2 separate regions of the Homo sapiens genome follow, and region 2 is linked to region 1. The links are contacts of gene promoters, found by promoter capture Hi-C in human tissues and cell types (Jung and others, 2019). All regions are on one chromosome and are shown on one strand. The core of a region is centred on a gene start or on the middle of the fragment in contact, and the rest is flanking DNA. Distances in the headings are between cores, read along the strand shown. Region 1 holds the start of TANC1 (tetratricopeptide repeat, ankyrin repeat and coiled-coil containing 1). Region 2 overlaps TANC1 (tetratricopeptide repeat, ankyrin repeat and coiled-coil containing 1).

Region 1 (4,657 bases), core at 995-3,494:
TTTATAAATGTACTATTTTCACCCACAGCTTAAGAGAGCTTCTTTGATGTTCTTAGTACAACATAGTGTATGTAATGTCAGCTGTTTAAAGCTGGAGATCAGATTGTGCATAATAACATATGTAGTTTGGATTATATAAACACTACAGGAAGAAGGGGAGACAGGGCCTTTCTGTGTGCACATTTCAGATTGCTAGCTGTATGCCTGTTTAGAATGTTAAATACTCCTAACTAGGCAGTGATGAAGTTACTTCTTTAGTGACTGTGACTTCTGAAACTATAAAGACAAAACTTTTTCAACTAAAAATAATTTAAAGATGATGTCAGTAATGAACATATTTATGTGATTTTCTACTTGCTACTTAAGGAGCTTTGAGAGTAGAGGGAAAAAAATTGCACTGCCTTCAAAGCCCTATTTAACTAAGCAATTTCATCAAAAATTTGGAAATACAGCTGAGAAGAGCCAAAACCAGAAAAATGTGGTACAAATGATAAATTTCATCCATTATACCTTTCTCCCATTATAAAGAAGTCTGGAGCAGGAAATCTTACCAGTCTATTTTCTTAGGATTGTTTCTCTTATATTTTAATATTTCAGATTAGTTAGACTGCTTGGAGTTTTTGTCTTTTGTTTGCATCATTCTTTTATCATTAAGGTTGCTGTCTGGCTTTTTTGTCTGTTGAAAGATTTCGTTTCAAGATAAATTAAATAAAACATTACCATATTTTTCAGCAATGAAACATTTCAGATGGAGAAAGAAGTCAATAGTTTTCTGGTTTAAGTTTGTATTTTTATTTTCAATATTCTATCCTGCCTTGTTTCGGGAATACTTCAAGGCCGCTGATGTGTTTACTGCTCAAATATCAACACAGCAGTAATCAGGCCTTTGAAACTATGGGTGAAAAATCCAGTCCATTTCAGTCTTTTTAATTTATGAAAAGAGATTGTGTGGCATTTTGCTTCCTGTCCCTTTTCATAAGAACTTTAAATATGGACACCCCTCCTGCTGGTGTCTTTATATAGGGAAGCTCTGCGTGAGGTTGAAGTTTTTATGAGGAAACTTGTTTAAAACACAATCGTATTTTAAGGCGGGTTTGCCACAGCAAGGTTAGGGGTTACCAATAAATCGGTTTACAGCAACTTCTCTATTCTCTGCTCCAGACACACCAATGGGGTGACCCGTGCACAATTCCCGCTGGCCACACAAGGCAGCGGCAGTTCTAGTTGATCCTTCCTTCGTCAACTAGATCAACGAAGGCTGTCTTAGAGAGCTTCGGGTATTAAGTGAGCAGAGTCCCTTAGGCCAATTTGGCTGCCTGGGATTCCTGGGAGGATCTTGGAGAACCCAGGACACCCGAATCCCTAGTCCCTATCCTGGTTTTTGCTCTGCTGGAGAATAACAAAACATTTTGGGAACTCAGGAGTTTAATTTACTGCCACCAACCGACAAAATAATAGCATCTTTGTGTGTTCTCTCCCCTCCGTCCCTCCCACCTCCTTCCGACAGAAGCACGACGCTGGCCCTCTGTGAATGTAGCGCAGACAGCACGGGCCAGCCCGGAGCGGTCGCAGGAGGCTCCAGACCCGCGGCCCCAGGGACGCCCGGGAAATCACCGGCCCCAGAACGTCCCCCATTCCTTTTGGGAAATAAAAAGACGCAGCCGGTGAGATGCCTTCTTAGACCTTCCAGCTCATTTAGCTGATTCTGGCCCCAGAAAGTGTGTTTGTGTTTGTGTGTAGTTAAGTGAGGCAGAGAAAATCCAAGAAAGCCGCACAAGCCACCCCAAAGCGTCCACGGAAACTCCAGCTCGGTTAATTGCTCCCATATGTCCTCCTCGGCTGTGGTAAAAAAGCAGCGAGGAGGGAAGGCCGGGTCGCTTTATTGATTTTGAAGAGGCTGTAAAAAAGACTATGGCCCATCTCATTTTGGTCCCAGAGGGGCCTAGGCGCAGCCCCGGGGGACCCGGTGCCCAGAGGGATGGTAGGGTGCTTCAGGCCCGGACCTGGCGCCGAGAGGCGGGACAAGGGGACCTCGCGCCCAAGCCCCGCGGAAAGTTCGCGCTCCGCGCTCCAGCCGGTCCCTGGATCCGCCGCAGCCCGGGGCGGGGAGGGGCGCGGGAGGCGCGGCCGGGGCGGGCGCGCGAGAGGAAGGTGCCTTCGGGAACACGCGCAAGGGCGGGGATTCGCGCTGCCAATGAGGCCCCGGTGTGGGCCGAGCAAGGCGGGGGGACGGGCCGGAGCGGAGGCTTTGCTGTGGCAGCTGCTGGAGCGGCGGCCGCCTCGGGAGCCGGAGGAGAGGCAGCCGCGGAGCGCCGAGCTGGCCTCGCCCCGAGGCCCGGCCCTGGGTGTGGGGAACCGCGCTGAGGAGCTGGAAACTTTCCCGGCAGGTAACTCCCGCAGCCCGGACTCCGCCGCGGGCCTGCGAGCGCCCCGGGCATGGCCAGCTGCCAGTGTGCGGAGAGGTCGAGAGGGACCCGGGGTGGAGAGGGTGATGGGAGAAGGGAAAGGCGTGTGGGAAAGTTTCTGGAGCGCCCCCTCCTCCGCCGGGCACACCCGGGAGCTTTCCGGGAATAGGCACAGACATGTTGGGCGCCCCGGGCCTTGGTCTCTCGGCGGCTTTGGGGAGTCCGCACCTTCCTTGCGCGGTTCCCCCGCGCCGGACCGAGCCGGCCTCCCCTGGAACCGGTGTGGTGGGAACCGGGAACGCTTGGGGCACGCTCGAGTTCTGGGACCACCCCCGCCCGGCGCGCCCGCTCGCCCCCTTTCCCGCCTTCTCTGTAGCCCTCGGGCTTGGCAAGGGCCTGGGCTACGCCTGGTACCTGGCGCGGGGGAGGCGGGGGGAGGCGCGCCTGGCACCGCGGGGTCCTGGGCGCCCCCCGGAGTGTTGGGGTGCGCGGGTCGCGAAGTTGCCGAGAGAACTTAAGCCGGAGGCATGGTATTGCCCCAGTCTGGGCTGAAAGTCTATTGCTTTGCTTCCAAGAACACTGCGATTAGCATATCCACACTCCTTTATTGGGGGTGGGGGTGAGTTAGGATTAGACGTTGGGGGTTTTTCTTTAGGGGTGGGGCGCTGAGAAGAGCGGTAATTGTCAAGATTGTGAGCCCCCTTGTTCTTGGATGCAGAGTGGTCATTTTCGGGGGACGATATCAGGGCACTGGCTTCCTGGAGGACTTTGGGGTGCGGGCGCGCAGCGCTGTGGGTGTGCGGGGCTCCCGGCTTTGGCGCGGCGGCTTTCCGGAACGCCTGGCTGGGAAGGAAGCTCTAGGCATTGTGTGGTGTGTTTGCAGACAGAAAGGTCCCTGGACCGGTGTTCTCAAAACTTACTGGACTTATTGTGTAAAGCTCCGGGAGGAAATGTGGCGTTGGCCAGGTAGAAACGCGGCGCTGCGGCCAAGGGGCGGAGGACGCCAGGCTCGGCAACGGCCTTCTCCCAGCCCCCTCCTGCCAGCTCCAGATCCGCGTGCCTCCAGTGTTGGGACCGTTCTCAGTGGCGTTGTTCCCTGCTGGAGTTAACTTGGGAGGTGAGGAGGGAACTTTCATCTTGAACTTGACCCCAGAAGCAGCGTCGTCCGTACAGGTTACAAGGTAAATGGAAGCTGAGTCTTAACGTGGGTTGGACCGCAAACTCTGGCTGGCGCGGAAAGGAAGTTCCTGGTTCAGAATCTTTGAGGAAAGGGCTCAAGATTGCTGAGATCGCTCGCTCTGGAAATGCCAGACACACCAGACTGCAGAAGTTAATGCGTGTTTGGAGGGGTGGGGGTGGGAGAGGAAAGGAGAAACCTGGTTAGTTGGCACAGAGGGCTGGTATTTCTCTGTAGTGGAAATGAAGGGAGTCTGCGTCTCTGCTTTCACCAGATCCGCTACCCTCTTTTTTCCTTCCTTGGTCATCTTTATTCCTGCCAGGCTGGCACTCCTGAGGCAGGGGAGGGGAAGGAGAGGAAAGCAGTTGTGAAGCTTCCTGGGTCAGCCTGGAGGTATTTCAGATCTGCTACTAGGAAGATTCCAGGATTTTAACAGCTGCTTCTTGATTGCTGGGAATGAAGGAGTTTATGAGCGGCTGAGACTACTTCATTATAGAAGTAGTCTGAGTGTTTTACTCATCTAAGCTACTTAAAGACCTCACAAGGGACCTTCCCTAGAGTATGCCAGTTTCTGCAGTTTGTGTCAGCCAGAATGCTTGGTGAGTGTTAGTCAAAAAGCATCATAAATATATCCTGGTGGTTCTGAAATGAAAAGTATGTGGCAGTAAAGGAAGTATGGTATCTGATATCCTTCAGGACTTCCTCCTAGGGTTGTTCCTGTTACCTGCCAAGTGAACTTGGTTCAGGCTTCCGGACTGTTGTGATTTGACAATAAGAGATGGGAAATAGTGTCATCGATTTTAGTGGAAGCAGGAAAAGTCCACAAATAAATTTAAGGTGAGTTTTTATGACCCTGTCTTGCACATGTGGTGCCCCAAACTTAACTTTTTGGCACCAAGCCTTTTGGTTTGAAGTGTTGCTGGAACTTGGAAGCAATGGTTTTCCTGCTTTCTTGGTTTAACCACCAGAATGCCCAAATTATTATAATTTATATCCATCCTTGATCTAAGATATAACTGATTCATAGTCAGCCTTTTTCTGCTTCCCATAACAGCCTGTAGAAAAAAGAACATTT
Region 2 (4,657 bases), core at 1,221-3,720, 100 kb after region 1:
GTAAATGGCTCAGCTAATATTTTTTTTTCTACTGGTCTCCAAGAAATGAAACATAATTTGATCTAACATCTATGATGTAATTAAAGCTCACAGTTGGTAGTGTTTCTGTTCTTTCTTTAAACCCTGGAGATTTTGTCCTTACTCTGGAAGCATTAGGTGGTCAAGGCCTCTTGCTCTCTAGAGAAGGCTGGTCCCTGTCTACTTCTGTCCCTTCTGCCTTCCACCAGTCTTCAATCTGTAGTGTTTTGCCCGCTGTAATTCTCCTAGTTGTTCAGTATTGGTGAGGAAGTAGGTTCAAGCTGAGGCAGAACAGCAAAGTTCAGTGAACTTTTAATTGCAGTACTGCCTCAATTAAAATACAGAAAAAATATAGACTGATTAAGGAATAGTTCCTTAATGTGCCAAAATAAAAACTGTTTATGTTAAGTCTTTTATTTGTAGTTAAATTATTTGTGCTTTATTTTTCCCCAGTAGGGGGACTTAGTTTGAAGCAACTTGTTAAAAAAAAATTTTTTTTTGACCTTTACCTTTCTCTCATTAAAACCCAGGTGGTTGGCTAAATACACTTGTAATGATGTTAATTAAGGCATTGGATAGTCTCTAAGCCTGTGTGTGTACTGAATTAATCTATTAGCTTTGCATCTAATTCTTCACTTTGAATTTCAAGTAGAAGGAAGCTGTTTGCCTCTAAAGTTTAAAAGCCATTGATGTGATTGTTAAACTTGGTATTTTAAGCCATTCCAGGCTGCAGCCTGGCTTTCAGTGGTACCTTCTAAACATGCCTCAATACAAATGATGCTTTGTTTTATGTAGAAAATACGAAGCTGCTTTTGATTATTCTGTGCTGCCACTGCCCGTTTTCTGTGGTTGTGGACTATTTAGGAATTTAGTGCAGTGACTCTCTTGCTGAGCTATGGATATTTGGTATCTTCTTGTTAACATTCTCCAAAAGTGTTTCCCAAGCAACAAAACAAGCAGAAATAATTCAGTATAAAGGTATTGTATTTTTCTTTACTGGGGCATTTAAACAAATTCTGCAAAATGTTAGAACATGATTTAAACATAGAATGGGACTTCTGTGTTTTTTTGTTTTGTTTTTTGTTTTTTGAGATGAAGTCTCGGCTCTGTTGCCTGGGCTGGAGTGCAGTGGGTGCCATCTTGGATCATTGCAACCTCAGCCTCCTAGGTTCAAGCGATTTTCCTGCCCAAGCCTCCCAAGTACCTGGGATTACAGGCATGTGCCACCACACCCAGCTAATTTTCGTATTTTTAGTAGAGGTGGGGTTTTGCCATGTTGGCCGGGCTGGTCTCAAAATCCTAACCTCAGGTGATCTGCCCACCTCAGCCTCACAGAGTGCTGGGATTACAGGCGTGAGCCACTGTGCCCAGCCTGATTTTTAATAGGAGCAGGAATGCTGGTTGTTCCCTCTGGTTTGATAGGTTCCTTCATCAGATTTTCTTTGTTGTCCCTCATGTATGTCACAAAGTCAAGAAAAAGCATGGACTTTGAAATTAGAGGACACAGACTCACATCCCTGCTCGATCACCTCCTATTTAACTTGAATTTGGACATATTTTCTTAACCTTGATTAAACTACCTTATAGTTGTATTGTCAGGGTTGAATACGAATACCTTTCTGCAAAAGTGTTTTAGCTTGACATTTGGCCTCTGCTAGATATCCAGTACATCTTTTCTTTCTTGAGAAAACTGTGTGATACCTTAAAGAACTAACAAAACCCTTAAAAATATATAAATAAAAGATATACCTAATGTTAAAGGACGAGTTAATGGGTGCAGCACACCAACATGGCACATGGATACATATGTAACTAACCTGCACGTTGTGCACATGTACCCTAAAACTTAAAGTATAATAATTAAAAAAAAAAAAGCTTCTTGTTCCTTTTCTGTTATGGAGAAGACAGGACTGATCTCAGATGAAGAGTGATGTTCTAGAAGCTTCTTTCCATGACTTCCTATTCCCAAATATTCTGGCATCTCCTCTGGATACTAAAGGCTCTTCTCCCAGCTTCAGCCTTTCCCCTATAACAAAACTGGGGAAGCTCTGAGTCATTTGTCTGCCCTGTGGTGGTTTATGCTTTCAAAATAATGTATTTTACCTTTTAACCTCTATGAAGTACTTGCATTTTATGGTTTTCTCTTTATGAAGTTAAACTGAAAGGCTTTTCTCCTTGCTTAAAGGGATTTCGGGAGTTGGCAAGCAGTTTCGAGAATAGATTTCTAAGTACAGTTTATAAAATGTTATCTCAACACATCCTTTGTGAATGAAGGTCTTTATATATGGAGGGCCCTTGTCCCCCGACCTCTTCATAGCTTTTCCATGTGTTTTAGGGAAATATAAAGGATGAAAGAGTTAGGGGAAGTAGGGAACAGATATCTACCGTTTATCATTAGGCACCTACATGTAAGGCCCAAGCTGGTTTCATGCTGAACTGCCTGTTTTCCTGGTGGGGGGCATACTTGGAGAAAGCTCTGGACCCCAGAGGAAAGGGAAGTCAGTCACCCTGGACTAATAAGACCTTTTTGTGGCATAAGATCTCCAGCAAGGCACCACCTATCTGAATCATCATAAAGCATGTGATAAAACTCTCAAACAATGCTTCTTTACTTGAGCTGCTTTTTGTATGTGTATGTATAAATGCCATAGGAAGCTAGATCAGTAGTAGGCAAATGAGCAATTCCGAGTTCATTTTTAAATTATCAAATCTAATTTTATTTCACAAATTTTTATTAAAACTCCTCTGTAAAACACAAAGGTCTTATTTTGTACAGACTTAGTTTTCAGAAAGTTCCATGTATATGTAACTTAATTCCCATAAAAAGTTTCATCTTTGCTTTTCCATGTTTTCTATTTGCACTTCCTAGAAGGGGAATTCTAAGGTTTTATTTCTATCCTACAGGAATGTAAAAAACTTGATTTCATATAATCTACTGGCAAGTGTAGTTCCTGAGTGGGGAGACGGGCTACAAAGGATTCTGAAGTAGATTGGCTTTTATTTCGTGGCTGGTGATCCAAACTGAGTATTCCTCATAAGAGTCTTAAGGGGATGGTGTGTTTACCAACCAGTTGTCTTGCAGTTAATGAGGGTGGCCATCAGGTGACCAGCTGGGTAGCCCTAGCTCTGGATCAGCATCAAATTGAGAAACCTTATTCACATCCAGAATCAGAGTTAGAACGCAGCATCTGTGTGTCTTCTCTCTCCCACTCCCCTCTGTCCTTTTAGGGGCAGGCTAGTTATACCTCATCAGCCATGAAAATACCATTGTTCTTGTCCTATGTTCTGGTGACCACAGTGCAGTGGGTAAAGGTAAAACGAGCAACTGAGCAGCTGGTTTTAATTCTTCACACTCTTAAAGTTTGTCAGGGAGTTGCCCATTTTTAAGGGAGTTTGGAGCCTTCAACTGCTAGATTTGGTACATGGTGATGATCTTTATGCCCTGGGATGTCATCAGGAATGATGTCTCTGATGTGAGACATGCATGGAGGTGGCTGTAGTGGTTTGAGATCTTGTCTGGGTTTTTGTAGATCACGAAACTGGCTGATAGCAGAGGCTAAGAGCCTGGAGGTAGACTCCAGGTTAAGGATGGAAGAGAGCCACCTGCACACAGGGTCTTCCTGATGATTGTGTTTTTATTTCACTTGCCAAAATTAAGGAATTTATGTTAATGCATTGTTTCTTTGTGAGGGCTTGCTCTTCACGCCCCACTAAGCAAATTTTCTATATGACTTATCTAGAAAGCTTCTTTCCAAGTACGAGATGTTAAAAATATTTTGATTTTTGATAGTACATCTTCGTGTTGTCTTAGTCTGCTTGAGCTGCCGTAACAAAGCACCATTGACTGGGTGGCTTTAACAATAGAAACTTATTTCCCCTCGCCATGCTGCACGCTTGAAAGTCTGAGATGAGGGTGCCAGCATGGTTGGGTGCTTGTAGGGGTTGCCCTCTCCCTGTGTTCTCACATGGTAGAGACAGGGATAGCAAGTTTTCTGGTATCTCTTCTTATAAGAGCGCTAATCTCATCATGTGCTCATGTAACCCAATCATCTAATCTGACCTCATCCAACCTAATTGTCTCCCAAAGGCCCCATCTCCCAAATACTGTCACATTGGGAGTTAGAGCTTCAACATAGGAATTTTGGGAACACAATTCATCTATAGCACTTTAATGTTGTTATTATAAACACGATACCCTGGAGAATTGGTCATGAAACACCATTATTTTATGTACTAAGGAAGAAAAAAAGTCAATCAATTAGAATGTTTATTACACTTAAGATTTTCTTTAAACTACTAGAGAAGTAAAAATGAGAATATCAGTATTTGAATCCATGCCTAATATTTATATACTCAATGTACAAAATTCGAAAAATACGCTGGGCCCAGTGGTTCATGCCTGTAATCCCAACACTTTGGGAGGCTGAGGCGGGAGGATTGCTTGAGCCTAGGCGTTCAAGACCAGCCTGAGCAACATAGTGAGACCTTGTCTATTAAAAAAAAAAAACAAAAAAAAAACTGGCCAGGTGTTGTGGAACATGCCTATAGTCTCAGCTACTTAGGAGGCTGATGTGGGAGGATTGCTTGAGCCTGGAAAGTCGAGGTTGCAGTGAGCTGTGATCACACCATCACACTCCAG

What was found. Contacts are between HindIII fragments. The study calls those that stand out against the background at their distance.
Region 2: a fragment that was not itself captured here is called in contact with the fragment with the promoter of TANC1 in region 1 in 2 of the 25 tissues and cell types used here (IMR-90 fibroblasts and hippocampus).

Annotation. Positions count from the first base shown.
Region 1 is chr2:158,966,396-158,971,052 of GRCh38, forward strand. It overlaps TANC1 (tetratricopeptide repeat, ankyrin repeat and coiled-coil containing 1), which reads left to right and starts at 2,245. Exons shown (of 27, transcript NM_033394.3): 1 at 2,245-2,387. RefSeq lists silencers at 2,031-2,140, 2,201-2,280. The HindIII fragment of the contact is 16,038 bases long and covers 1-4,657 here.
Region 2 is chr2:159,070,891-159,075,547 of GRCh38, forward strand. The region is part of intron 3 of TANC1 (tetratricopeptide repeat, ankyrin repeat and coiled-coil containing 1); the gene reads left to right. Among named protein-coding and RNA genes, the nearest start is that of TANC1, 100 kb to the left of the region's middle. The HindIII fragment of the contact is 4,174 bases long and covers 384-4,557 here.